Regions from separate parts of the Homo sapiens genome. Here all the other regions are linked to region 1. The links are contacts of gene promoters, found by promoter capture Hi-C in blood cells and fetal thymus (Javierre and others, 2016). All regions are on one chromosome and are shown on one strand. Each heading gives the region's core, a stretch centred on a gene start or on the middle of the fragment in contact. The rest is flanking DNA. Distances are from core to core; before and after follow the strand shown.

Region 1 (5,808 bases), core at 1,595-4,094:
CTGTTTTTGACCCCCTACCTCCTTAAGAAACTTTATACCAGCAGAGAGCGCAATGCCTCATGCCTGTAATCCCAACACTTTGGGAGGTCAAGGTGGGAGGACTGCTTGGGCCCAGGAGTTCGAGTCCAGCCTGGGCAACATAGGGAGATCTCGTCTCTACAGAAAATTTTTAAATTTAGCTGGGTGTGTGGTGTGCACCTGTGGCCCCAGCTAACTACTTGGGAGGCAGAGGCAGGAGGATCACTTGAGCCTAGGAGGATGAAGCTGACTTCTGAGTTTAAAGTGTTCGGAGAATTGTGCAGGTGTAATTTATCTGTGACCAACAAGAAGAGCAACCAGTTACTATTAGCAAAAGGGAGATGGAAGACTAATAGGTGCCGCTACACTCCAGTCTGGGTGACAAAGTTAGACCGTATCTCTAAATAAGTAAAAAATAAATATACCATTAAATCTAAATTCTAAAGTTATAAATTTATACCATAAAGTTTATACTATCAAATCTAAACCTAGGCCGGGTGCGGTGGCTCACACTTGTAGTCTCAGCACTTTGGGAGGCCGAGGCGGGCGGATCACGAGGTCAGGAGTTTGAGACCAGCCTGGCGAAGATGGTGAAACCCCGTTTCTACTAAAGATACAAAAAAAAATTAGCCAGGCGTGGTGGCGCACGCCTGTAATGCCAGCTACTCCAGAGGCTGAGGCAGGAGAATCGCTTGAACCCAGGAAGTGGAGGTTGCAGTGAGCCGAGATGGCGCCACTGCACTCCAGCCTGGGCGACAGGGCGAGTCTAAAAAAAAAAAAAAATCTAAACCTAGACCACAGAATATCCCTTGAAGTGAGTTTGAGCTTCCCAAAACCAATGATAGAAATGTCCAAGTGGTTTCTACTTGCTCTACTACTAGTCTAATAGCCTTCAAACCCAACAGCTCCCACCTCCGTACACTGTTCCTTTTCCAGACGACAAAACCGTCGCACAGTTCAGCATGTTTCCAGTAATAGTTCTGTACTTCCCAAAAAGATTGCTGCCACTTCTCCTACAAGCACCCGAAGGCGGCTCTGGTAAGCAGCTGACATTAACTAGGTCAGCATTTGTGTAATAAACATGGCCTGGGTAATTCTCGGTGAGCTTTCCTCTGCCCCCTTTATCTAAAATTTCACAGGCCTCTACACACGCCCATCTCCCTTTCCCGAATGTCCTTTTTTCTCTTCAGCACTTGTCACCAACAAACCTGAAGTTTACTCGTTTATCTCCTCTATCTTGTCTCTGCCACTAGCACACAAGCGCCAAAAGGCAGGGATTTTTGTCAGTTTTGTCCATTGCTGTGTCTCCTCCAGTGCCTAGAACAATGTCCGGGACTCTCTCAAGAAAAGCCTGGTATAGAATTTAAAGGGATAGCAAAATGTGTGCAAAAAGTATGATCAATCACGCAGGGTTTGCCATTGCCAGAAAGGGTATCTGGCAACTAACAGGTTCACCAATATTTGCTAAATGAACGGAATACACGATCATTCTCAAAACATGGTGGGTCTCATAGTCACATGGGGACATAGTTACAACGGAGATGCCCAGGCCCGTGCCCACGAATTGATTCCATCAACGAAATCGAATTCCTGAATCACAAGGAACTGAGGCAGGTGATCAAAAGACCACCCTCAGTTTGGGAAGAGGCTAGCGGAGTCGAGCAGCAGCGAAAGATGCTCACGACCACAGTTCGCAAAGCAGATACCCGAGCAGCGGCGCCTCCAGGGGCGGAGAAAGACGCGGTCCCCGCCCTCCAGGCACTTTCAGTCTGGAGCAGGGAGGCGAGGGACCCGCAGCTGCGACCCTCCGCGCCCGCGTTCTCGGGCTCCCTCCCACCTGAGCGCTCCCCGCCGCCGCAGGTCGCCCAGGCTCCGCCCCCCGGAGCTTCACCGCCCACCGCGCGCCCCGCCCGAGTGCGCCCAGCCCGCGCGCCGCGGCCTCCCTCACCCTCGGGCCTCGCAGACGCCGCAGCAACGCGTCCTCGTCGTTCTCGACGTCGCCGAAGACCAGCTCCTCCAAGCACCGCTCCACGGCCGGTTTGTCCTCCTCCAGCCTCAGGCGGTTCCGCTGCCGGAGCCGTCTCTCTTCCTCCGCCGCCGCGACTGCAATCGCAGCGGCCGCCGCGCTCGGCCGGGCCGGCGGTTTCCGCTGGGATGAAGGGGCAGGCTTTTGGGGAGGCCCGCCTGGCCCCGCTCCGGCTTTCCAGTCCGGCCTCATTCCGGGCTTCCGCTTCGGCTTCGCTCCGGTTCTCCGGTCCAGTTTCATTCGTCTCCTCCGCTCCGGCGGCATCGTTAGGTTTGAGGAGAAACGCAGGCGCTCACGTGGAACCTCGCTGCGCATGCGCCCAGGCCCCTCGCGGGCCGCCGCCGCCGAAGCCCCGGGGGCCGGAAGGAGCCTGCGCAGCCTCTTGCCACGTGACCAGCACTCCCTCCCTCTACGTAACTCCCGCTCCCCTACCCAGCCCCGCCCCGTGTGGGAGTTCCTCCGGGAGGGCCAATCTTCCGGGTGTAGGGGGAAGCGGCGTGACTGGAGTGGAAAATTTTTCCAACACAATTTCGCAGCTGCAACATATTGAAAGGAGCGCAAGAAACCCCGACTATACACTGGGACGGCTGAATGGAACTTCTGCTTTTCCTCTTGGCTGTAACCACTTGACTTGACACAAGCCCCAATACGCTTTCCACCCTTCGTCTTGGTACGGTCCTTGGAGTACGGAGCCTGCAGAGGGTCCCACGGTGGAAGCGAGAGAGGAGGGTATGTAGGGAAGTGGGCCAATCGGGGCGCGGGTCACGGCGCAGGCGCGCTGGGGAGGGAGGGCTATGCTAATGTTGTTGATATCCTGGGGCCACCCGAGTTAAAGGGGGGAAATCCGGGGGCTGCTGCACCCGCCACCGGTCTGGGCCCAGCCGGGGGCCCCCTGTAGTCGCCGCAGTCCCGGGGAGAGGCACCTGCCCCCAGCCCGGGGAGGGGGCGCCGCGGGCTCGGGGAGCACGGACAACCCCTACCCATGAGGCCCTGATGGAAAACACAAAGGATCTGGTGAGAGCCGAGCGCGGCAGCCGCTTTGTGTGCCAGGTGGGGGGGACGCCTGCAGCTCTCCGACCCCAGGAACCCCGCAGCTCCCTGACCCCGCTCCCTGGCCTGCTTCTCCATCCCACGCCCTCTCAACCTCCGGAGCCCCCCTCCCCCTTCCAGCCGTTAAACGATTCAGGGGTTCCCCTCCCCCCACCCCGTCAGCCTTGGACTCGTTGGGGTTCTCTCCATCTCCTCCACCCTTTGGAAGAAAAATTCGAGAAGAAAGTTTTTCTCTGCGTCCTGCCCCCGCCCCCTGCTCTGGCTAGGGGGGAAAGGCTGGATCCGAGACTTTTCCTTTTTTAGCCACCCAGGGTGGGAGAGTGGAGTAGTCCTCTCTTCTTGGCGGGGAGGGGGAGCACAGTTTCGTTGCTTTGCAGGGGAAGGTGTCTATCTGCCTTGGGGGCAGTGCCGCGAGGCGGTTTGCACGTGGAGGTGGAAATATTGAAAGGGGGCGGGGTGGGCACGTGCGGGAGAGGTGGGAGTGGTGTTTGGGAAGCAGCCTCCAAGGCTGCATATTTAAAAGGGTTTCAAGTCGGTGGACTTCTGTGACCATTGCGTTCTCCTTTGTGAAATAAGAATCCTAACATTTCAGAGTCGGAAGAGACATTAGAGGTCATCCAAAGCAGCCGTCCCCTCTGCAGCCTCTCTGACAAGTGGTAGGTAGTCTGAACCCTGCTTACACCCCTAAAAGCACTGAGAGCTCACTACTGCCCAGGAAAGCCCATATTTCAGTAGTTCTAATTGTTGTCTGCCTACCCTTATTAGACCCTTCAGTCTCATTCATGTCCTGGTTAAGTTGCTCCTTTTTTTACTTCTCAAATTTTCTCTCACATCCTCCTCACCCACCCACTGCTCATTGGCCTATATTTTGTGTGCCAAGAAAGAACAGCAGGGAAGTGGAGGAAGGGGGGTTGAGAGATAGTGAGGGCTAGCCGAAAACTTTGCTGGGTCAGTGTCAAGTGTGCTGGCTTACATGCCTGAAGATGTTTTTCTACAGGAAGCTAAAGAATTACAATATGGGAATTTCGTGCCTGTTTTCTCTTAGGAGTGCATCTTTTTGAAGTTAGAAATTTCAGCGTCATCTCCGTGGTTCTTGTATCACAAAACACATTTGTTTATTACCTAAATCACTTCTAAGGATGTCTAAAACTGAAGTGGTTAGAAGCATCACCTGGTAGAGGGATGATTAGATGATTACCGCCCACACCCGTATTTGACCTGTGTTCCTCGGAAGCTAGTCTTTCCTCCAAGGGCCTCTCTTCCAAATGCTTTTACTCCTTCTTTTTTTTTTTTAAGTAACTATCTTTTATGAGATTTGAAATTTACGAACCATTTTAATACTTGTTTAGAGTTTACAATATTTTTAATTCTCCTTATATTAGCATGCACCAGTACTTATCACTGGGTGGTTGAGATAGTTGAAACTATTGTCACTGGGTGTTTTTCTAACATTCTCCTTCATTTGGTGAGCTATGCTGCCTCTAAAAGTAGTTTTATTGGCCTAAGAATCTTGGATATACCTATTACTCTCTAATGTGGTGAAGTGGGTGTCAAGACATAACAGGTATAATGTAGAAATAATGCATGTGATTTAAAAGCCAGCAAATAAATTTCACCTTAAGCCCCAGTCTCCTATTTAAAAGGTTAGACTCAATTTTTCTCTCCTCCTCTTATAACTTAGAGACTGTTGCTTTGCTCTTGTGGACTTAGACTGTTATTTTATTTTTCATTTGTTTACCTCAACACCAGAGTGTTTAGAAAGAAAATAGCTGTACTTTTTTTTTTTTTTTGCACCACCTCCTTCTCTGAATAACAAGTAGCTTCTATCTATCTAAAACCCCATACTGATTGCTTGTGAGTACCTTGCAAATTATGGCAACATCTGTCTTGAATAAGTATTTATTCATAGTGCCTTACGTTGTTGCGTCATGCTTTTTAACCATCCAGTTTCTAACTTTATGTAATGTTTGACATAAAATATTTCCTCTAAATCTACTCATTAGAATTCAGCTTGTGAAAAAGAATCAGTAGAGGTGTAATAATAGTGTTTTTAACATTTTAATTAATAAGGAGTTCCAAGTTTTTTTCCTGCTTACTTTAAACATGAACTGTCATGACTTAAGTTGACTGACTTTGGAGACATCTGCATTCTAAACATACTAGACAGGAACAACTGGTTTTATTTTTAAGACGCTGCCATATTCTTTAAAGCTGGTTATATGTTGACCTTATTATCTAAACCTTTCTAGATGTTCTAGTGCTGCTTTTGGTCCCTCAATAATGTTGAAAATTAAAACAACATTTTAAATTGTTTTCAAATGTAACATAGTGATCAAAGGAAAATATAAGCTATAGTTTAAAAGTGAAAACAACATATTAGGATAAATACTAAACCACTGAATTACTAAAAGCCAAGAGTGCTCAGTAGTCTGAGTAACCACATTCTAAAATTAGACAAGTGACATTCTTTGGGTTGCTCTTTGTTTCTCAGCTTTTCATCTTTAAAATGTTTGCTAAATAAGATATAACCTTTCACACTTATGTATCATTAGTCTGAGGGTTTCAAAATTCAAGAAAGAATAAAAACATCAGGACAATAAAAGAGAAAGGACTTACAATAGTTAAAACAAGCTAAGATATTTCTCCTAACACCACAGTATTCTTAACTGTGCAAGATGACTTTTGATTTCAGGCAAAAATTGCACATAGATTTA
Region 2 (5,808 bases), core at 2,471-4,970, 410 kb after region 1:
CCCCGAGTGTGTGCGTATGTGTGTATGCATCTCCCCATCCCTCTTCTTTTTCCTCTCATTCCTGCCCTCCTGCTCTCCCCCTCTCTTCTCCAGCTACCCTCCTCCTGGACTCTTTCCTTATCAGCAAAGGAGACTGCATCTGTTCTCACTTTGCTCTGGGAGAGGGGCCTGTTCTCCCCTCCTGGTTCTTGCTCCAATCATTGGCAGGGACGTGCAACAGCAATTATCCCCAACAAACTGAAGCAATGAGGCCCAGGACCAACTACCCTGGAGAGGCACTATGGCTACCATTATTATTCTGTTGTATAGATGATAATACTAAGGCACAGAGAAGTTAACTACTCAAAGTCACAAAGCCAGTATTTGAACCTATGCTCTGCCATGACTGTGACCTTTTCTCACTGCCGGCCCACCCTGGATAGCAAGGAGATTTGGGGACCTTGCGGCCTAAAATATCTGGCCCCTTATTTACTTATCTATTTATTTATTGCTTAATATGTTGATTGTCTTTATCTGAAAAATCCTCATAGAAAATTGTTGTCTGGGGCCGGGCGTGGTGTCCCACGCCTGTAATTTCAGCACTTTGGGAGGCTAAGGCAGGCGGATCAACTGAGGCCAGGCATTCAAGACCAGTCTGGCCAACATGGTGAAACCCTGTCTCTACTAAAAATACAAAAATTAGCCTGGTGTGGTGGGGTTTGCCTGTAATCCCAGCTACTGGGGAGGCTGAGGCAGGAGAATTGCTTGAACCCGGGAGGTGGAGGTTGCCCTGAGCCAAGATCGCACCACTGAACTCTAGCCTGGGTGACAGAACAAGACTCTATCTCAAAAAAAAAAAAAAGAAAGAAAGAAAATTGTTGTTTGGTTTAGCCCTCAGCAGTCTGCTCCTCTGCTCTTGTAAGAGAGGGCTCAGAGAAAACAAGCTTGCCTTCTTTTGAGCTACCCAATCTTTCTTCTGGGCAAGGGACATTTGGGGACGGTTCTATCTCCTCTTTTTAGCTTCTTTCTCGGGCTTCTTCTCATGGACTGGTGATATGGTTGGCATCTGTGTCCCCACCAAATTGCATGTCAAATTTTAATCCCCAGTGTTGGAGGAGAGGCCTGGTGGGGGATGACTGGATCATGGGGGTAGTTTCTCATGAATGGTTTGGCATCACCTCTCAGTGCTGTTCTCGTGATAGTGAGTGAGGAAGTCATTGGGAGCTCTGGATGTTTAAAAGTATGTAGCACTTCCCCCCTCTCTCTCTTCCTCCTGCTCTAGCCATGTAAGACGTGCCTGCTTCCCCTTTGCCTTCTGCCATGATTGTAAGTTTTCTGAGGCCTCCCCAGAAGCAGAAGCTGCTATGTTTCCTGCATAGCCTGCCAATTAAACCTCTTTTCTTCATAAATTGTCCAGTCTTGGGCATTTCTTTATAGCAGTGCAAGAACAGACTAACACAGCTAGATTCTCTTGTATAGCAGCATGAGCTTCCTTACACATCTCCTCCACCACGTCTGTAGTTACACTGTTCTTTATGTATTGAGATAACTCTTTCTTGTAAGCATCTTTATTTTCTTCCATTAGGTGATGCATCCAATCTGCAACATTCTGACCTATGATGTACTTCTGATGTACTTCTTCATTAAATTCCTTGCCTTCAGAATCATAAGCAGGGAATCATTTGGTACTGTGAGGGATAGACAAGCCTCCATCCACAGCTCCCTTCAGTGCCCCAAAAACTTTATTGCCAATAGTAGTTCTGGCAAAGCCTGCATCCAAATAGCAGGTGAAGGCACCGGGCTGACCATCAATGCTTTCCACATTATAATTCATCTCTGGTCACCTTCTCTTGGCCATCATAGATCTTGTCCATGCCGAACCTATTGAGAAGCCTGCAGGTCAGCACAGGCTGGTACAACAGGCTGCAGCGTCATCTGTCAGGCCAACCTTCACATTGCATTTTGGCAGTTCATGTGCATAAGCTGTACAGACTATCATATCCCCTTCTATGTGAGCATAAGTAATCTGACAAATGATATCTCTATTAGTTACATGACTTTTCCTGTATTTGGGCATGTTATACTTGTTTTTATCCTATATCACCAAGGGTTTCCAAAGATAGTAATCAGTTTTACCCTCTTGTCATTTTCTAAATTTCACGTGTATCTCTTAAAGTAGGCCTAGTTCTTGACGTCTTTAACCACCCCCATCCTGCAGAACAGAGCCCCCTGGGCCCTCTTTTTAAACATTTATGCAGCACACTTATAGCAGCAATGACCACTAACAAAATAATTATTAGACTTTTAGTCAGCACTTCCATGCAAGAAACAAGATGACAGCTGCAGCATAGGTGTCTCTGAAAAGCTGCTGAATAACTGGCCTGGTGGCAGGCTGATTCCTGGGAGGCGGCAGCTGTCATGGGCACTGTGCTGTGCCATGGGAGGACTTAGCCTCTCATTCCCACTGTCTCCTTCCCATCAGCAGCACCCCTACCATATTCAGCTAAAAGTTTGGAGAACTCATCTTCACCTGCGTGTCATGACTGCTGGTGCTGCGTGTGTGTGCGCACTTATTTGTGTCCCTTTTTGGGAACTCTGGGGTATTGAGGGAGGCCATCAAGAACTTTATTTGCATGAAGATATATAAACCTGGCCAAGCACAGTGGCTTACACCTCTAATCCCAGCACTTTGGGAGGCCGAGGCAGGTGGATCACTTAGGTCAGGAGGTCGAGACCAGCCTGGTCAAAATGGCGAAACCCTATCTCTACTAAAAATATGAAGATTAGCCGGGTGTGATGGTGGGCGCCTGTAATCCCAGCTACTTGGGAGGCTGAGACAGGAGAATCACTTGAAGCCAGGAGGTAGAGGTTGCAGTGAGCCGAGATTGCACCATTGCACTCCAGCCTGGGTAAGAGAGTGAAACTCCATCTCCAAAAAAAAAAAAAAAAAAAAAAAAGAGAGAAAAGAAAAAAGATGTATAAGCTTTTCAGGAGAAAAGATGAGGGCATACTGAGGCTGAGATCAGGGTCATGAGACAATGGGAGTAAAGAGAAATTTGTGTCAATCCTTTGTAACAGGGGTGTGCAATAGAATTTCCTGTAATGTTGGAAATATTCTGTCTGTGTTGTCCAGTATGGCAGCTACCAGCCACATGAAACATGGCACTTGATCCATAACTAGCGTAACTGAGGAAATGAATTTTACGTTTTTATTTAATTTAAATTCATTTACATGAATTCAGTACTAACAGTATTGAAGGGTATGGCTTTATAAAATTTCTGTAAACCCTTGGTACTCCCAGAGGTCAAGGACCAGTTGGAAGTGGTGGTTATGGGTGTTTAGAAGGGGAACCGCCATTTGGGGTCCTCAGCCTTTAACTGCGATGGTTAAAATACATATGTAATATCGTGATAAGGGTACAGGTACCAAATTCGGACAGACTTGGCTTTGAATCTTGGCTCTTTCATTTAATGACCCTATAGCCTTGGGTCCTTTAAACATTTAGAGTCTCCGATTCAGCATCTGTAAAATAGCACCTATGAGGGCCTCTTTTCCTCCATAAAGCCTATAGGGCTTGCCCCATTCATTCATTCATTCGACAAACACTTAATGAACATGGTCAGGCTTGTGTTTGGTGTATAGGTCTTTGCCCTCCTGAAGGTTGCAGCTTAGAGTGTGATCTGCCAAGTGGTGAAATAGTAAAATAATATGGTGCCTTCAGAGGGTTGGGAGGATTCAACCGGGCAGTCCACGTAAAGTGCCTGGCGCAGGGGTTAGCATTCTCATGTCCACCCCACTCCTGGCACTGTGCTTCTCCCCTGCCCAGGGTCCTTGAGAAAACCCTAGGCCCCTCCTCGCTTCCAGGCTACCCACCCAGAAAGGAGATAAAGTCACCGTCGTCTGCTCTCACTTAGACTATGGACAGAATTGGATGCATCCCTCACATCAAAACAGAAAACAAGTTATCTGGATGGGTCCACCTCCTCCCGTCGGGTCTCTGGCAGTGTCCTCAAGGCCTGAAAAGGGCCGAAAGCACGCAAGTGCCCCCTTTGCCCCTGACAGACACCTGGGAAGAGGCCCCACCTCCAGGAGAGGCTAGTCTATGTTGGGCTGGGTTCTGCTTTCCCTCATCCGAGTGGGGTTGAGGGTGGCCAGAGTATTGCTGGAGACCTAGTGGAGTACCGTGTCCCGGGGTAATTTGGGACGGGACCGCAGGGACTCCAACGTGACCCTGAAATGGGTCGAGGGCCTCAGGAGCCTGGGAGGCAGGCAGGAGAGGGGTGAGGGGCTTGCCCACCTGCCCACCCTGCCCTCTCCCTCAGGAGATGTCAGCTGGAGGTTTACTCTTCCTTCCTCCTGACACAGCCTGAGTGAGGAGTGTCACCTGACCTCAGGGCACATTCCAGAATGAGGCCACAGCCAAGAATAGGGCCCAGGAACCCTGCCACCCATCCCGCCTGCATTAATCACAAATTCTCCAGAGTAGGAGGGAAGCTTCAGACTCTTCAGAGAGGTGGGAGGAAGAGGAGGAGGAGGAGGCAACATGAGGTGGAGCTGGGAAAAAGAGGGAGGACCCCAGAGAGGCCCCTTCTAGGCTTGTGGTTGTTCAGTGCAGCAGCGCTGAGTGGCCCCTGGTCCCAGGACCCTCTGTTTCACCCAGCAAGCACCCCCATGAGCTCTGAGAGCTGGGCCCACAGCTTCCTGGAGGCCCTAGGCAATGATTCTGATCTGGATCAGCACAAACACAGAGGGAGAGGGACTCAGAGAGGAGTGCTCACACAGCCGGGGGACAGCAGAGGCTTCCCCAAGGAGCTGAGTCTTGAAGGATGAGTAGGCAGAAGGCTGATGAATCTAGGCCAGGACTGCTTGTGTGTGTGATAGAAATACTTGTCACAGGGTGAGGTTGTAAACAGCCCTGAGTGGTATGTGTGTGCTGATGGGAGGCAGTCTCTTTAGAGATATTTGGGGTCCTGATAGGACTCCACACTGCCCAGCCCAGAGCAGGGTGTGTGTGTGTTTGTGTGTGTGTGTTGCACACTAGGAGAAACAACATAACATGAGCATTAAGAGCTCTGGGCTGGGCGCGGTGGCTCATGCCTGTAATCCCAGCACTTTGAGATGCCGAGGCAGGCGGATCACCGGAGGTCAGGAGTTCGAAACCAGCCTGACCAACATGGCAAAACTCTGTCTTTACTAAAAATACAAAAATTAGCCAGGCATGGTGGCACACGCCTGTAATCCCAGCTACTCAGGGAGGCTGAGGCACGAGAATCGCTTGAACCCGGGAGGCGAAGGTTGCAGTGAGCTGACATCATGCCACTGCACTCCAGCCTGGGTGACAGAGTGAGACTCCATCTCAAAAACAAAACAAAACAAAAACTCTGAAGTCAGACTGGCAGGATTCAAGTCTTGGCTCTGCCACTCATCCGATTTGGGGCAAGTTTCTTATCCCGTCTAGCCTTAGTTTTCCTACCTACAAAATAGCCTTCTGTCTCCTCCAGTTGCAGTGGAGCTTACAAGAGCTGGTACCTGGCACATAGGACGTGCGCAAGCATGCTGCTGTTTTACAATAGGACAAGGGGACGGAGGGAGTTCCCCACGGCCTAAGGCAATCACCGATGCTGTGGACTCTAGTCAGGGTTCACCCCATCCCTGCTCTCCAGCCCCACTGTCCGGGGGGTGACATCAGACTACGGAGCGGCTGGCTAGACAATGGAGCAGAGTGTCCTAGCAGGCTGGAGGTGCTGGGGGAGGCGGAGGGTGGAAAAAGCCAAGCTGCCCTGCCCCAGAGGCCCTGGGGGCTGATCTGGAGACAGGCCCGCTCGGGA
Region 3 (5,808 bases), core at 1-2,500, 350 kb after region 1:
GAGGTTCTCGTAGTGATCAGCGAGCTGATGTCTGTGCAGGCCTAGCACAGGGACTGGCACACAGGTGGGGGTGAGCCCCGAGACCCCAGACCCCTTCCCTGGAGGGCACAGGAGTGGTGGAAGGGACAGGAGGTTTTCCAGCCCCAGTATCCAGGAGCCTTGGCACAGGGACTCTGATCAGGGGAGGGAAAGCAGTGAGAGAGCATAGCTTCCCAGAGAGCTCTGAAGGGGTCGGGGGACCAAAGGGGAAAGAAAATCACAAGCTCTCTTTGGGACTACCTGTAGGGTGAGCCAGGTTTCATGAGCAAGGAAAACCTCCACTTCATTTCCAGTCTCTCCATAAAGCCTGATGTTCCTCCTTTTGTGTTCCTCTGGGTTATAACAGGGTTAAACCCTATATTCCAGCCCGCAGCACAGGAAGGGGTCAGCCAGCAGGAGGTAACCCCTGGTGGAAAGGGAACAGAGAAGCTGCAAACACTGTCCAAAACAAACTTCTGCCACCTTACCACGTTGCCCTGGGCCTGCCCTATTTGCCGTCACCAGCAGAGGACAAAGAAAGGTTATGTGCAAAGGTACTTTGTGTTCCCGCGGCAGGGGGCCAGCGGGGAACTCTCGTCACCTGGTTGTGCTAGGGATTCCAGGGCATGCTCTAAACCACAGAGGAGGGCGGCCTCTGAATGGGGCCACGACAAAACAGGCCTGGGTGAAGCTGCTATTCGTCTGCTATGAGACCTGGAGGGGACTCAGTCCTCCAGCCTTGGATCACAGGACTCCCCAAGGCTACAAGGGCCATTGGGGGTGTCAGAGTCCTGGGACCCTGACCAGCTTCCCAGCCAGCCTCCAGGAGCGCCGTCATCCCTGCTGCAGAGAGAACACAGAGATTAAGAGTTATAGGCTTGGCTGGGCCAGATGCTATGGCTCACACATGTAATCCCAGTACTTTGGGAGGCAGAGGCAGGCAGATCACCTGAGGTCAGGAGTTTGAGACCAGCCTGGCCAACATGGTGAAGCTCCGTCTCTACTAAAATTATAAAAATTAGCCGGGCATGGTGGCACATACCTGTAGTCCAGCTGCTTGGGAAGCTGAGGCAGGAGAATCGCTTGAACTCAGGAGGCGGAGGTTGAAGTGAACAGAGATCATGCCACTGCACTCCAGCCTGGGCAACACAGCAAGACTCCGTCTTTAAAACAAAAACAAAAACAAAGAGTCACAGGCTTTAGAATCAGCCGCACTTGGGGTCAAGTTTCAACTCTGCCTCCTTCCAGCAGTGGGACCCAGGGCAAGCAATCAATTTCCTTTGAGCCTGAGTTTCCTCATCTGTGAAATGGGGCTAATCGTTGGGACTGTTTTGAAGACGCATGTCTTCTGACTCGTACACTGAGCACAGTGGCTGACTCAACTGTCAATGCCAGACATGCATAATGACAATATAAATGTAATGATAATTCCTTCCAGAAATACCTGTCGAGCACCTGTGACAGGCCAGGCACTGTGCAGGGTGCTCTTGAAGATATGAAGGTGAGTAAGACAAGTCCCACCCTGTCTGGAGGACATGCCCAAGAATGATTCTAACCAAACCTGAGAATGCTGAGTGATGGGAGGGAAGGCATGCAGAGGAGGTCAGCATAGGCATTCAGGGAAGCCTTCCTGGAGGAGGCAGCACTTGAGCTGGGCCTGGGCGGGTGGCTAGGACTGTGGATGTGGGGAGGAGAGGAAGGACATGCCTACATGAGGAAGGAAGTAGAGTGAAAGAGCTGTTCAAGTTTAGGGCACACAGAAGCTCCATGTGGCTGGAGTACAGTGCCCAGTGAGGACATGGGGGGTGGACAGCATGCCAGGTGGGACAGAGCGTCACTGTCCCCCAAATACACCATCTCCCTCTGCCTTGCTGGGTGACCTTGAGCTGGGTACTCTGTGTCTCTGAGTCTCATATCTCTCATTTGTGAAATTAAAGGTCTGGAGTGATTAGTGGTTCACCACCTTTCCCCCAAGAACTTTAGTTACTCCCTGTTTTTCTCCCCATTGTCTCGCATACATGTTGTGTCCTTGCATGAAGTCACTGAAGGTTTTGATCAAGGCTACGGATGATCAATCACAGGTGATGTGAAAAAGCCCCCTGGCTCCAGTGTGGTGATGGGTGGGAAGATGGGAGGCCCCCACCATGAGCCATGAGGGCCCTGGTGAGGACTGGGCTGAGGGAGGTGAAGGAGAAAACACCATTAGGAACTGGAGCTCTGGCCTAGAAGTCCTGACAGGGGCTGAGGGGAGTTAAGGGTCAGAAGGCAGAGCCTGGGTGATTGACGGTCAGATGTATAGGTTGGGGTTTCAGCCAGAGGGGCATCCCTCCCATCCCCAGAGGGAGAACAATGGGTTGGTTTAAACAAATTGAATTTGAGGCACCTCTAAGACATCATGGTAGACTGTCCAGTAGGGAATGGATTTTTTTTTCTTTTTTGAGACAGAGTCTCGCCCCAGGTTAGAGTGCAGTGGTGCAATCTCGGCTCACTGCAACCTCCGCCTCCCGGGTTCAAGTGATTCTCCTGCCTCAGCCTCCTGACTAACTGGGACTACAGGCGCATGCCACCATGCCCAGCTAATTTTTTTGTATTTTGTTTTTGTTTTTTAGTAGAGTTTTTTTTTTTTTTTTTTTTTTTAGTAGAGACAGGGTTTCACCACGTTGGCCAGGATGGTCTTGATCTCTTGACCTCATGGTCCACCCGCCTCAGCCTCCCAAAGCGCAGGGATAACAGGCGTGAGCCACTGTGCCCAGCCTTTTTTTTTTTTTTTTTGTTTTTTGAGACAGAGTCTCACTCTGTTGCCCAGGCTGGAGTGCAGTGGCGCAATCTTGGCTCACTGCAGCCTCTGCCTCCCAGGTTCCAGCTATTCTCCTGCCTCAGCCTCCCCAGTAGCTGGGATTACAGGTGCCTGCCACCATGCCTGGCTAATTTTTGTATTTTTAGTAGAGACGGGGTTTCACCATGTTGACCAGGCTGGTCTCAAACTCCTGGCCTCAGGTGATCCTCCTGCCTCGGCCTCCCAAAGTGCTGGGATTGCAGGTGTGAGCCACTGTGCCCCCCTGAACTCTTAACCAGTCTTTCTCATCCCTTGGAGAAATCCTAAAGTGCTCACAGAGGTGGTCCCTTCCCATTTCCACTGGCAGTAGCTCTGAATTCTGGTGTTCATTGTGGGCTGGGCGGGCAGAGGCAGAAGGGTTTGTGATGGGAGCAGGGTTTTCTGCCCCGGTCCTGCTGGCCCTTCTCTATTCTGTACTGGTCTTTGATGGGGGCCAGGCATTGGTAGGTGGGACTGATGATGGGCCTAATGATTGACTAGTGTATTCGCCAATGGAACACACGTGGGCCTCCTAACCCAGCAATACAAGGGGTCTGGAAGATCACCTGTTCCTGGCTCCCCACACCCCACCCCAGATCAGAAAAGAGCAGGGAGAAAGAGACCTGTTGCTGTTTTTTATCTTTATAAAATCCTAACAGAAAATAGAATATTTATCTGTGAGAAGGGTACACTGGCTTAACTAAAATGTCAAGTTTCATTGCTGGAATTATGAGGGACATGATAAATGTACATTTATTCAGTAATTACTCATTCAGGATTCTGTTTTGTATGAAACAAAACCAGGACATGCTGCTCAGAAGCTCTGATTAGTTTTGCTTCATACAAAATCAGCTCCTGGCCGGGCATGGTGGCTCATGCCTGTAATCCCAGCACTTTGGGAGGCCGAGGTAGGCAGATCACGAGGTCAGGAGTTTGAGACCAGCCTGGCCAACATGGGAAAACCCCATCTTTACTAAAAATACAAAAATTAGCCGGGCGTAGTGGCAGGTGCCTGTAATCCCAGCTACTTGGGAGGCTGAGGCAGGAGAATTGCTTGAACCTGGGAGGCAGAGGTGAGCCAAGATCGAGCCACTGCACTCCAGCCTGGGGGACAAGAGCGAGACTGTCTGGAAAAAAAAAATCAGCTCCTGAATTAATAATTATTGGATGAGTGTTACTTGATAGCCCTACATTTTAAGAACAGAGAGACAGAGAGAGAGAAAGAGTTTGTGAGTGTGTGTGTGTGTGGCGGGGGAAGAGGTACAGAGCTGAGGTAATAAAAAGGTAAAATGCTCTCATTTTACCAATGAGAAAACAGAAGTGTAGCGGGTAAGTGACCAGCTCAAGGTCACACAATGAGGCAAGGTCACACAGCAGGGAGGGCCAGACCCCAGACCCCAAACCTGGGCCCTCCCTGGTGCTCTTTGCTGCTATGGTTTTTGGGGGTGGAGTGTGTGAGGGAAGCTGAAGAGTTAACAATGAATTCTGTACCTTCAGGCCATGGCCAACAGCTGCCTGGGAGATAAGGGGAGGCGACCCCTGGGAACAAACAGCCTGTGGATTGGAGAGATTGAGCAAGGCTGGAAAAACAGGTGCAGGTGGCAACAGGGAAGGGGGTGGGGCAGGAGACAGAGCCAGAGGGAGCAGAGGAGGTTCCAGGGCTCCTGGGACCCCAGAGGGTCCCTGTTGCCAGAAGGCACTGGCTGGGCCAGAGTCCAGGGTGAGCAGAATCAGGTCCCAGGCTTCACCCTCTGCAAGCTTCTCTATGACCCCACAGGGGGTTAACTGGGCCTTGAATTGCAGAACCAGAAGGGGCTGAAGGGAGCACCCAGGCCTCAGCTGGCTCTGGTCTGAGACTCAGGTCAGAGGCAGAGGTGATGGCCACACCTGGGAGGCTGGGTTGCCCTTGGACAAAGCAGCGGCCGCAGCTGTTTAGGTTCTGCCACCCTCTCCCCTCCTCTGTCCCCAAAGGCTATCCAGCCCCCGCAGCAGTCAGTCCTTGGGTTTCACAGGCCCTGCCCTGGAGAGCTTTTCTTTAGAACCAGCCCCATCAGAAATCCCTCCCCCAGAGAATCACTGGGAGCTTAGGCTGCTGCGGGGAAAAGGGCACTGGGCTGAGAGGTGAAAGTCCGGGGCTCAGACCCTGTCCTGTCACAGATGCCCTGACCCTCTCTAGGGGCTGTTAAAACCATCCCCATTCAGGGTAAAGGTCCCCGGTGACACTCTGGGTTGGGGGAGCTGGGTGGGTGCCTGGGCGCTGCTCCCATCCCCCCACTCTGAGAGCTTGCTGTGTAGGCAGAGGCCCTGCCAGCCACAGGCTGCTGGGGCTGAGGCTGGGCTGGCTACGGGCTGGTCTCCTCCTCTTCCCCCAGCAGGGCTGTGGGGGCCTGCCCAGGCCCCCTGGTCCTGTGTTTGGGCAGCAAGCCAGCACCTGTGTGAGGGGTGGCCGGGCACCCTGCCCAGAGCTGAGGAGAAGCTGCCCCCTGGGGACTGGGCCCAGGCCTTCTTGTTCAGCCAGAAATTCCAGCCTTTTAAGGATCAAGAGCCAGAGAACGGCCTTTTCCAGGCTGCCAGCGAGCCGTTTTTCCAGCTTGGCAGTATCGCCAGTGCCTTGAGGGAGGCCTCTCTGCTTGCCCGCACCTCGTAGGCCAGGCTCTCGGGAAGGAATTATTTCTTAAGTCAACTTTGTTGAGGTCTAACTTACGCACAACAAAATGTGCCCATTTTAGGTGCACTGTTGTATGTTTGCATACCTACCACAATAACCAAAGTAGAGAACATTTCCGTTACCCTGAAAGGTTCCCTGTGGCCCCTTCTGAGTCAGTCATGCCCCTTCCCTGGCCCCAGGCAAGCACCAATCTGCTTTCTGTCATGACAGATCAGATTTGCATGTTTTGTATACGTTACCATACAGTTTCTACTCTACTCTTACCTCTGACTTTTCCCCCTCAGCCTAATGATTTCAAGATTCGTTC
Region 4 (5,808 bases), core at 1,845-4,344, 290 kb after region 1:
TGGCAGGGAATGGTTTAAAAGCAAATACTGTAAGTCTATAAAATACATTAATACATATACACTTCAAAATCACCATACCTTTTTTCAGGCCAGAGGAGGGAGAAAGACTAGAAGGTATTTCGGAAGCCTTTAAAAGAAAGCAAGGTTTCAATCCCACCTGTCTTTTCTGCAGTTACTTATAAATCATATTTAGACCTCTCCTTATATCCTAAGAGATTCCAGGATCCCCTAGAGTTCATTTCAGTTATTTGTAAGAGCTTCATTTTAGCATAGTTATTGGAACAGGATTTGTTTTTTAAAACACACACACACAGAGAAATAAAGGAGAAATTTTAGCATTTAGGAAATGCTGCACATTGAGTTCTTAGTGTTTTGATTCAGATTCACTAAAATTGCTTTATTATTTAAAAAAAAAACACCATAAATCAGATTTTCCTTTTTCAGCAGAGATTCTAATAGAAGCCTTGGGAAGAACTTTATGTATTACTTGGTATTATGCCAAGTGGGATCTTGTTATTTTCGTTAGGGGCTTTGAGCACCAGGTTTACCAGATAGAAGACGCTGAGAGTGGTGGCTCACAGTAATTCTCTCCTCCCTGTCATGCACCTCTCCATGTCCCCTTTCCTCCTTTCTCACTTTAGCCGTAATCCTCCACCAGGGACGTTTACTGGGGCTGAGGGGTAAGTGCAGATTCTGAACCAAACTCTTCTTCCTGGCTTCTAATAGCCACTGTAAGGCTGTTACCACTCCTCTAGAATACCCTCTTGAATGTTCCTAAATGTTATCCACTTGCAGTCACTGCATCGCAGCAGGTGTCTTTTTTTTTTTTTTAATGTTTGTTACATGGCCACCAAACTGCTCAGCAGCTTAGTCTATTTATCATCTTTTGTTGCAGCTGAACTTTCTTTCAGACTTTGTTTTCCTTCCAGTATAAACATGAAACATCTCTTAAAGCTGTCATTAATTTACATCGTTTACTCTTGTTACCGATCATATTTCTTTCATTTACTTACTTGCCCATGGAATGGGGATGTTTTGTGAGTCTGGTCTTTTACAGTACGCAGCACACCATCAGTCTGGTATCAATAAAAGCTGCTCTATTGTAGTGGCTGGATTCTTGTAAGCACAACTTTTTACCAACCCCCTCAAGGGAAATATTCTTACTGTGAGGGAGAAAAATCAGAAGATAAACTATAAAGAAAGACTTTATTTGCAAATATACCCATTTACTTTAAACTGTATAATGGTTAGTTTTCTAACATGTGCATTAAAAACAAAACAAGAAACAACTAAGATTCAAATTTGTTTTTTTTTTAACTAAAATTATTTTTTAAATGAATAGATGTGTTTAAAAAATAAGCTTACTTATTGCTAGACTGGCAAAATCCCCTACTCCATTTACTGAGGTACTTAAAAATAACTAGCATGCTGTATCTCTTTTTTTCCCAGCTTTGTCTTGAATTGGCATTGCCATCCTTGTTTTATCTCAACTGGCTGTAGCTTTTAGATAATATCATAAGGATTAACCAGTAACCTCTTACATTCATTACTGTTTTCTAGGGGAAAATATTTGGTATTTGGTTTTTCTGTTGCAGCAAATAAAACCTCAGGTGTACCAGGAAATCGTCCTGGAAGTGTAATCCGTGTATATGGTGATGAAAACAGTGATAAAGTGACTCCAGGGACATTTATACCCTATTGTTCAATGGCACATGCACAGCTTTGCTTCCATGGGCACCGGGATGCTGTGAAATTCTTTGTGGCAGTCCCAGGTATGTTAGATTATTCTGTTGAGATGTTCCATGTAATTGTCTCTCTTCTGTCATCTCTTGGTTCCACTACCTAATAGTCTAAGGCTAAGTACTCGAATTGCAGGTAATTTCAATATATACGAAGGAAGTTCTGTAATGGAGGTGTGACTAAGGTGCTATAGGGATACTTGAATGAAGTTACTTTGGAATATCTCTCCCACCCCCAAAGATAAATTTGTTGATTTTTCTTTAGGAGACTTGCTTACTTTTGAAAAGCAGTAGTATTATTTTATCATCGTGGATTGCCAAAAATGGTCTTGACCTAATAAGAGAAATCACTAGAAAGAAGCTTCTATCATCAAGGCTGCATGGAGGAAGAGAGAATGCACTCTGGTACCTTTAGCAGCTTAATAGGAAAAAGCAGTGAACTAGGAGGCCTGGGGGTCTGGCCCCTGTGTCTCTGCCACTAACCTCGAGCAAGGCACTTAACCTCAGAGACTCATTTCCTCACTCCTAGGTGGATGTGATTAATATCTGCTCTGCCTACTTCATTTGTTATGAAAATTAATGAAAATGCTACTGGGAGCTATAAAGCACCACCCAGAAAAAAGATGGAAGTGATGATGTCCAGTGAAAAATGACAAATTATCCATTGACAATACTTAAGTGATGTCACTGACCATCTGTAAGCAGGACACAGGTTTTGAATTTTTTTTTCCCATAAGAGGCAAGTTTAGGAGCTAGACGAAGTTCAGATCTGACTTTCCCCCACCAACTAACTGTGTGATGTAGTATATTAGTCAGGGTTCTTCAGAGAAACAGAACCAATAGGATGCATGTGTATGTGCGTATGAAGAGAGAGTTACTGTTAAGAAATTGGGTCACACAGTTGTGGGGACTAGCAGGTCTGAAATCTGCAGGGCAGGCTGGCAGGCTGGAGACCCCGGGAAGAGTGGATGTTGCAGTCCAAATCTGAAAGCAGTCTGGAGGCAACATTTCTCTTTCCTCTGGATCCCTCAGTCTTTTTCTTCTAAGGCTTTCAACTGGTTAAATGAGGCCCACCCACACTGTGGCGTGTAATCTGCTTTACTCAAAGTCTGTTGTTTTAAATGTTAATCACATCTAAAAAAGACTTACAATGATATCTAGACTGGTGTTTGACCAAATATCTGGGTATCGAGCTAACACGTCAAATTACTCATCATACTTATTTTCCCAAGGGTCTTCCAAAGATTAAATGATTTTATGTACATGGGGCAAGGGCTGGCATATGGTACCCTAAGCAATTATTCAGTTATTCTTAACAACAGTGATAATGAGCTTTCTGAAACCTCATTTGTACATTTTATATATTTGTATAGTCATTTCCTTCCTAGAAATGGGATTGCTGGTAACAGTGTTTCTCTTGCTTAAAAAAAAATGAAATATCACAGTTTCCTTTAAATCTCCTTTGTATCCCTCTCCAATCCCATTCTCCTCTCCTTTTCCTCTCCATTGGTAACCACTATCTTGAAGTCGATGCAAATCCTCTTGCCCCTGTTTTTGTATTTTTACTATGTTTGAATGTGTTTATAAACAATGTATGATTGTTTTGTGGTTTTGGACTTTACATGTTAAATGTTGTGTTTTATATGTATGCTTCTACAACTTGCTTCTCATTTTTTGAGATTTATCAATGTTCATACATAAAAATCTAGTTTATTCATTTAACTGGTATTATAACTGAATAAAAGTGCTACATTTTATTCATTCTTCTGTTGATGGACCTCTAGGCTTCTCCCCTTTCTTTTTTCACTATTAAAAACAATACTGAAGCAGACCTTCTTGTGTGCATGTGTAAGGATTTTTTGTTGGGTATAAATCTAAAAGTGGAATTAGCAACATGGTTGTTGCGAGGCCAGTTGGCCCTAAAGATTAAACCATTCTGGTTGGCCTTATCAGTAATACCACTGTGCTCTTGCTTCTGTGGCAGAACTAACTCGTCTACCAACAGAAGTCATTGCTGGCATGCTTGATTTCTTCCAAAGTATAATTGAGTAATGCATGAATGAATCCCTGTGGGGATACGTCAGACTATCCTATCCACTTTCAACATACATTAATTTTGTTACAGTGTGTCGCATTAATGGCTGTCCAGCTAGCTCCTGGAGGCGCAGTCTGTGTAGTTTGACCAAAGGACAGCAGATTCTGACAAGGAAAAAAATATCCCACAATTAAATCTTGCTAAGAGGGTTGGCTTAGAGATTGCTCATTTGTTCATAGTTGTGAATAATATTTAAAGGTTTCTCTCTTTCTATTATTTCACACTCAAGGATTCTACCTTAGAACTTAAGCTTTAGAACAAACAGCACATTTACTAGTAATTTTGTTTGCATAATCTAAATTAAAAATAACCTGTATTTTCCTTAAATATGAGAGGAAAGCCATAGATTTGAAATAAATTTAAATGTTAATTATGACTATGCAAACTCATAGGGCTTAAGTTGAAGACTTTTCTCAGTCTCTTACACAAATAAGCACATTCCTTTTCAAGGGAGAGACCTTTTCCACTGTCTTCTCAGATCAAAAGATTTAGACTATAATAGTTTGAAGCAGGTAGGCTGTGCATGGTGGCTCACACCTGTAATTCCACAACTTGGAAATCAAGGCAGGAGGATCACTTGAGCCCAGGAGTTTGAGACCAGCCTGGGCAAACATAGCAAGACTTCATTAAAAATTTTTAAGAGACCAGGCACAGTGTCTCATGCCTGTAATCCCAGCACTTTGGGAGGCCTAGGTGGGTGGATCACTTGAGGTCAGGAGTTTGAGACCAGCCTGACCAACTTGGTGAAACCCCATCTCTACTAAAATACAAAAATTAGCCGGGCGTTGTGGCAGGCACCTGTAATCGCAACTACTTGGGAGGCTGAGGCAAGAGAATTGTTTGAACCCCAGAGGCGAAGGTTGCAGTGAGCCGAGATCGCGCCATTGCACTCTAACCTGGGCCACAAGAGCGAAACTCTGTCTCAAAAATAAATAAATAAAGTAATTTGGGCCAGGTGCAGTGGCTCATGCCTGTATTCCCAGCACTTTGGGAGGCCGAGGCAGGCAGATCATGAGGTCAGGAGATTGAGACCATCCTGGCTAACACGGTGAAACCCTGTCTCTACTGAAAAAGTTAGCCGGGCATGGTGGCACGTGCCTGTAGTCCCAGCCACTCAGGAGGCTGAGGCAGGTAAATCGCTTGAACCCGGGAGGCGGAGGTTGCAGTGAGCCAAGATTGTGCCACTGCACTCCAGCCTGGGCGACAGAGCAAGACTCCATCTCAAAAAAAAAAAAAAAAAAAAAAAAAAGGTAGTTTGAAGCAGGCAGCTAAGACCCACCTTGCCATGCATATATCTCATATTGGATTTGGGGCCTATTCCTGCTTTGTTACAAAATTGCTTTACTTAGATTTTCAAATTGGGTTTTGTTTGTTTGTTTGTTTGTTTGTTTGTTTGTTTTTTAGAAGCAAGGTCTTGCTCTGTTGCCTAGGCTGGAGTACAGTGGCGCATCACAGCTCACTGCAACACTGAACTCCTGGGCTCAAGTGATCTTTCTGCCTCAACCTCCCAAGAAGCCAGGATTACAGGCGCATACCACCATTCCCGGCTAACTTTTTTGGTAGAGATGAGGCCTTACTATATTTGCCAGGCTGGTCCCAATCTCCTGGCCTCAAGTGATTCTCCCACTTCGGCCTCTCGAAGGTGTGAGCCACCATGCCTGACCTCAAATCGGGTTCTTAAAACCTTCATGTAAATGTTTTCTGATCATGCAGAGCCTTCTAGCTTCCCCAGTATTTGGTTATTAGAATATATTTACCTTTTTGTTTAACTCTAAAAATACTTAAAAAAAAAAAACAAAACAGCCTCCCTTCTGTGATAAGTAATATTCACTTTTGTTTCTGTATAAAACAGGTCAAGTCATCAGCCCACAAAGTAGCAGTAGTGGCACGGATCTGACGGGTGACAAAGCAGGGCCATCTGCACAGGAGCCTGGTAGTCAGACGCCCTTGAAGTCTATGCTTGTCATCAGTGGA
Region 5 (5,808 bases), core at 2,010-4,509, 270 kb after region 1:
TCTTACTCTGTCACTCACACTGGAGTGCAGTGGCACCGTCTCGGCTTACTGCAACCTCTACCTCCTGGGTTCAAGTGATTCTTTTGCCTTAGCCTCCCAAGTAGCTGGGACTACAGGCACGAGCCACTACACCCGGCTAATTTTTGTATTTTTGGTAGAAATGGGGTGTCACCATATTGGCCAGGTTGGTCTCGAACTCCTAGACCTCGTGATCTGCCCGCCTCGGTCTCCCAAAGTGCTGAGATTACAGGTGTGACCCACCACCCCGGGCAGTCAGATTAGTCTTGAACTCCTGACCTCAGGTGATCCACCCGCTTCGTCCTCCCGAAGTACTGGGATTACAGGCATGAGCCACTGAACCCAGCCTGAGATCTACCCTCTTAACACATTTTTGTTTTTGTTTTTTTGAGACAGGGCCTCACTCTGTTGCCCAGGCTGGATTGCAGTGGTGCAGTCACAACTCATTGTACTCATTGCAGCCATGACCTTCCGGGCTCAAGTGATCCTCCCAGCTCAGCCTCCCAAGTAGCTGGGACCACAGGCGCACACTACCACACCTGGCTAAGTTGTTTGTACTTTTTGTAGGCAGGGTTTCACCATGTTGCCCAGGCTGGTCTGGAACTCCTGGGCTCAAGTGATCTGCCTGCCTTGGCCTCCCGAAGTATTGGGATGCCCAGCCCTCTTAACAAATTTTTAAGAGTACAATACATTATCCTCTAGGTAGAAGTTCTGACACATGTTATAACACAGATGAACCTTGGAAACACTATGCCAAAGGAAATAAGTCGGACACAAAAGGACAAATATTATATGATTCCGCTTATATGAGATATCTAGAATAGGCACATTCATAAAAACATAGAGTTTCTGTGTGAGGTGATGGAAAAGCTTTAGAAATAGGCCGGCCATGGAGGTTCACACTCATAATCCCAGCACTTTCAGAGGCCAAGGTGGGACGATCACTTGAGCCCAGAAGTTTGAGACCAGTCTGGGCAATATAGTGAGACCTCATTCCACAAAAAATCAAAAAATGAGGCGGGAGGATAACTTGAGTCGGGGAGGTCAAGACTGCAGTGAGCTACGATTGCACCACTACACACCCACCTGGGCAATGGGAGTAAGACCCTGTGTTTTAAAAAAAAAAAAAAAAAAAAAAAAAAAAAGACCTGGCATGGTGGCTTACACCTGTAATCCAGACACTTTGGGAGGCTGAGGTGGGCGGATCACCTGAGGTCAGGAGTTCGAGACCAGCCTGGCCAACATGGTAAAACCCCGTTTCTACTAAAAATACAAAAATTAGCCAGGTGCAGTGGCAGGCGCTTGTAATCGCAGCTACTTGGGAGGCTGAGGCAGGAGAATTGCTTGAACCTGGGAGGCAGAGGTTGCAGTGAGCCGAGACTGTACCATTGCACACCAGCCTGGGCAACAAGAGTGAAACTCTGTCGCCAAAAAAAAAAAATAATGGTGATGGCTACACAATGTTATAAATATTAATGCCAATATTGTAAATATTAGTGCCACTGAATTGTACACTTTTAAATGGTTAAAGTGGCAAATTTTGTTTATATATATATTATTTTTACTGCAATAAAAGTTTTTAGTGTGATATAAATAAAACAATTTTCTAAATTAAAAAATGAGATTTATTTTTATATTGTAAATATTTTTATATTATAAATGCTTAGTTTTTAATGTTTTACTAATATCTTAATCAACCTATATACTTGGGGCATTTAATTTTTAACAGTAATGGATAGAAGCTTATACTTCAAGTAGTAGCAGTAGTCTTGATGATTTAAAAGAATTTTTTTTTGGCTGATGTTGTCAGATATAATAGATTGTTTTTAACCTGTGGCTGCTGAGGAGCTCACTAAGAACAGAAGCTGGCTAGGCGTGGTGGCTCGCACCTGTAATCCTAGGACTTGTCTGAGGTTGGTGGATCCCTTGAGGCCAGGAGTTCAAGACCAGCCTGACCAACATACCGAAACCCTGTCTCTACCAAAAATACAAAAATTAGCCAGGCGTGGTGGCTCACACCGGTAGTCCCAGCTACTCAGGAGGCTGAGGCAGGAGAATCACTTAAGCCAAGGAGGCGGAGGTTGCAGTGAGCTGAATCATGCCACTGTACTCCAGCCTGGGCGACAGAGTAAGACTCTGTCTCAAAAAAAAAAAAAAAAAAGTTTATTTTCTGACATTTTTATGTTTATTTGCACTTGTGTTAATAGAAGTATTTTCTTAATTTTTTAAGTTACCTTCCCATATTGTGAAGATTTGTTTATGTAAATTTAATGCTACCTGTATTCAACTACCTGTACATCTCACCTGCATAACTCTCATTTCAAACCTGTAATTGTTTTAGTAAAAAAAATGTTATTTATAGAAGTTTACTTTGCTGTTACAAGAAGATTTATTTTTCAGGTGCACGAGAAACAGACTACCCTGCAGGAGAAGATCTTTCAGAATCTGGTCAGGTAGACAAAGCATCTTTATGTGGAAGTATGACAAGCAACAGCTCAGCAGAGACAGACAGCCTGTTAGGAGGCATCACAGTGGTTGGTTGTTCTGCAGAAGGTGTGACGGGAGCTGCCACTTCCCCTAGTACAAATGGTGCTTCTCCAGTGATGGATAAACCACCAGGTATATCCATTCTCTTTACCTGCCATCTGTATAGAGTCTAAGGCTACACTCAGATGCCTCATTATGGACTTAATTTAGATCTTAAGTAACAAGGTTGAAAGAACTTGAAAGAAGATACTGTAGGCCGGGCGTGGTGGCTCACGCCTGTAATCCCAGCACTCTGGGAGGCCAAGGCGGGTGGATCACGAGGTCAGGAGATCAAGACCATCCTGGCTAACACAGTGAAACCCTGTCTGTACTAAAAAGTACAAAAAATTAACCGGGCGTGGTGGCGGGTGCCTGTAGTCCCAGCTACTCGGGAGGCTGAGGCAGGAGAATGGCGTGAACCTGGGAGGTGGAGCTTGCAGTGAGCCAAGATCACGCCGCCGCACTCCAGCCTGGGCAACAGAGCAAGACTCTGTCTCAAAAAAAAAAAAAATGCTGTAATGACTGTTAAATGGAATGAAGAATTCTTAATTTCATGGTACAGTGTGAAGGAGTGGGTAGATGGAATGGAATTCTATAACAGGGGTTTGTGTGGGGAAATAATTGGAGGAGAAAAGCCCAGACTTGGAATAGTGTTTTATTTACTTTGTAGAAATGGAAGCAGAAAATAGTGAGGTTGATGAAAATGTTCCAACAGCAGAAGAAGCAACTGAAGCTACAGAAGGGAATGCGGGGTCAGCTGAAGACACAGTGGACATCTCCCAAACTGGCGTCTACACAGAGCATGTCTTTACAGATCCTTTGGGAGTTCAGATCCCAGAAGACCTCTCCCCAGTGTATCAGTCGAGGTATAATAATGGGTCATCAACTTAGGCAACTGGGTGAAGTGCACAAATAAAAGGAACCAAAATAATCTCAAACAGTCAAAAGATTTCCACTAATTAGTGTCACTGTGGTGGATTAAAAGATACCTATTCTTGTGATAATTTCATGTATTCCCGCTCCATCATTCTCGCTGGATATTCCCCCCCATTTCTTCTGTACACCTTCCAATTTAAAAAAAAAATCTTATCTATAAAAGTATAATCATGCATCAGTCAACAATGGGGATATGTTCTGAGAAATGTGTCATTAGGTGATTTCATCATTGTGTGAACATCATAGAGTGCATTTACACAAATCTAGATGGTATGGCTTATCACACACCTAGGCCATATGGTATAGCCCATTGCTCCTAGGCTAGAAACCTGTACAGCATGTTACTGTACTGAATACTGTAGATAATTGGAACATAACGGTAAGTATTTGTGTATGTAAACATGCACAAGGTACTGTAGAAATATAGTAGTATAATCTTGTGGAACCACCACCATATATTCTGTCCATCATTTTCCAAAATGGTTTTACCAGGTGTGTGACTATATATTAGTCAAAATCTTTCTGTTCATTTTCTCCTCTGATCTGTTTTTTTTTCTTTTTTTTTGTACTTACTGTCTTCCATTCTATAAGTAATTCTTTGTCATTTTAATCCCACCCCTACTCTAATTTTCACTCCAGTTATCAGCAAAATTGGCCATTGTTTAAATCTGCCATTGTACAAGTTTCCCACATGGGTGTGGATGACCTTTTTGAATTTAGTTTTCATGCAAATATTTTATTAAAAAACAACTCAGATAGTTCCAGTGGCTCATGCCTATAATCCCAGCACTTTGGGAGTCTGAGCAGGAGGATTGCTTGAGTCCAGGAGTTCAAGACCAACCTGAGCAACATAGTGAGACCCTCATCTCTACAAAAAACTTAATGATTCGCTGGGCGTGGTAGCGTGCACCTATGGTCCCAGCTACTCAGGAGGCTGAGGTGGGAGGATTGCTTGAGCCCTGGGAGCTGGAGGCTACAGTGGGCCATGATATCACCACTGCACTGCCGCCTGGGAAACAGAACAAGACTCTGTCTCAGAAAACAAACAAACCAAAGAAAACTGTTTGTTTTAGGCTCCTCCGTTAAAGGGTTGGTTAATCTAGGCCCATTTAGTGAATTATTTTATTTTCTTTCCTGCCTTTTCTAGATCCCCTCTAGATGAGAGTCTCTTTAAACTAGATCCTTTTTAAAGTTTAATATTCTTAGTGTATAAAGTAAGAAAGATTAATTAATAACCCATTTATGCCTAGTGGTCCATTATTGGAATGCTAAGCTTGTGGGAGTTATTCATATCCTACTGCTCAAGGTCATCGCTAAGGTCTGATTTTTTACAAAAAAAATTTGCAACCTCCGGCATAAATGGGTTAATATTTAATTCTTTTTTTTTTTTGGAGATGGAATCTCACCCTGTCACCCAGGCTGGAGTGCAGCAGTGCAATCTCAGCTCACTGCAACCTCCGCCTTCCAGGTTCAAGCGATTCTCCTGCCTCAGCCTCCCAGGTAGCTGGGATTGAAGGCATGTGCTGCCACACCCAGCTAATTTTTGTATTTTTAGTAGAGATGGGGTTTTATCATGTTGGCTAGGCTGGTCTTGAACTCCTGGCCTCAAGAAATCCACCCACCTCACCCTCCCAAAGTGCTGGGATTATAGGCGTGAGCCACCGCACCTGGCCTGAATTATTAATTTAAGAATAAGTCATGTTTGAATTTGATAGCCTGGTTATATATCTTTTACTAAATATGCCCTGACAATTCAAAGGAAAGGTTTTGTGATAGAATATTAAACATATTTCAGTTTATTAATTTATTTTAGGTCATTCTTTATATTTCTCCCTACTATTTGTATGTGTGTATCCCTCCCTTCTCTCTCACTTGAGAAGAAACTATGACAAAACCCAAAATAAGAGACAGCCATAGTAATTGTCTGAATATTAACTGCTGTATTTCATTACCATGTCTTATTATCTTTTCTGCTCCTTGGGCTTCCTAGTTTGTTAATGTTATTTCTGGTACAATTGTTGAAATATGTGATGTAAGCTTTTGACTTTGGCTTTTCTGGAATTTTGGTGGTTTCTTTTTTTTTTTTTGACTAAAAGTTGAAGCCAGGTGTGATAGTGTGTGTGCCTCTAGTCCCTGTTATTCAGGAGGCTGAAGTGGAAAGATCACTTGAGCCTGAGAGGTCAAGGCTGCAGTGAGCCCTGATTGTGCCACTGTACTCCAGCCTGGGTGACAGAGTGATACCCTATCTCTAAAAAATAAATAAATAATAAACAAATGAACAAACTTAAATATAGAAGGATTCAGTCCCTGAAAACTATAACGATAGTT

Evidence for each region. The method cuts DNA at HindIII sites, captures the fragments that hold promoters and counts their contacts. A CHiCAGO score of 5 or more calls a contact.
Region 2: a fragment that was not itself captured here is called in contact with the fragment with the promoter of MBTD1 in region 1 in 1 of 17 cell types (neutrophils); the score reaches 5.3 in neutrophils.
Region 3: a fragment that was not itself captured here is called in contact with the fragment with the promoter of MBTD1 in region 1 in 1 of 17 cell types (neutrophils); the score reaches 6.1 in neutrophils.
Region 4: a contact is called between a fragment that was not itself captured here and the fragment with the promoter of MBTD1 in region 1, in 1 of 17 cell types (non-activated CD4 T cells). The highest score is 5.2, in non-activated CD4 T cells.
Region 5: a fragment that was not itself captured here is called in contact with the fragment with the promoter of MBTD1 in region 1 in 4 of 17 cell types (monocytes, total CD8 T cells, total B cells and 1 more); the score reaches 6.7 in monocytes.

The regions. Positions count from the first base shown.
Region 1 is chr17:51,257,085-51,262,892 of GRCh38, reverse strand. MBTD1 (mbt domain containing 1) reads left to right here and starts at 2,844. Exons shown (of 17, transcript NM_017643.3): 1 at 2,844-3,058; 2 at 3,687-3,750. It overlaps UTP18 (UTP18 small subunit processome component), which reads right to left and starts at 2,347. Exons shown (of 14, transcript NM_016001.3): 1 at 1,967-2,347. The coding sequence starts at 2,308. RefSeq lists an enhancer at 1,277-1,326 and silencers at 1,797-1,986, 2,337-2,446, 2,787-3,106. The HindIII fragment of the contact is 12,089 bases long and covers 1-5,808 here.
Region 2 is chr17:50,844,333-50,850,140 of GRCh38, reverse strand. It overlaps the pseudogene RPL5P33. Among named protein-coding and RNA genes, the nearest start is that of WFIKKN2, 12 kb to the right of the region's middle. RefSeq lists an enhancer at 5,196-5,721. The HindIII fragment of the contact is 1,512 bases long and covers 2,965-4,476 here.
Region 3 is chr17:50,904,209-50,910,016 of GRCh38, reverse strand. No RefSeq gene overlaps it. Among named protein-coding and RNA genes, the nearest start is that of TOB1-AS1, 40 kb to the right of the region's middle. RefSeq lists enhancers at 1-275, 276-1,186 and a silencer at 455-749. The HindIII fragment of the contact is 6,686 bases long and covers 1-4,593 here.
Region 4 is chr17:50,970,735-50,976,542 of GRCh38, reverse strand. It overlaps SPAG9 (sperm associated antigen 9), which reads left to right. Exons shown (of 30, transcript NM_001130528.3): 28 at 1,596-1,772; 29 at 5,687-5,808. Among named protein-coding and RNA genes, the nearest start is that of TOB1-AS1, 110 kb to the right of the region's middle. The HindIII fragment of the contact is 1,984 bases long and covers 2,103-4,086 here.
Region 5 is chr17:50,987,279-50,993,086 of GRCh38, reverse strand. SPAG9 (sperm associated antigen 9) reads left to right here. Exons shown (of 30, transcript NM_001130528.3): 20 at 2,419-2,637; 21 at 3,215-3,410. Among named protein-coding and RNA genes, the nearest start is that of TOB1-AS1, 120 kb to the right of the region's middle. The HindIII fragment of the contact is 2,993 bases long and covers 1,763-4,755 here.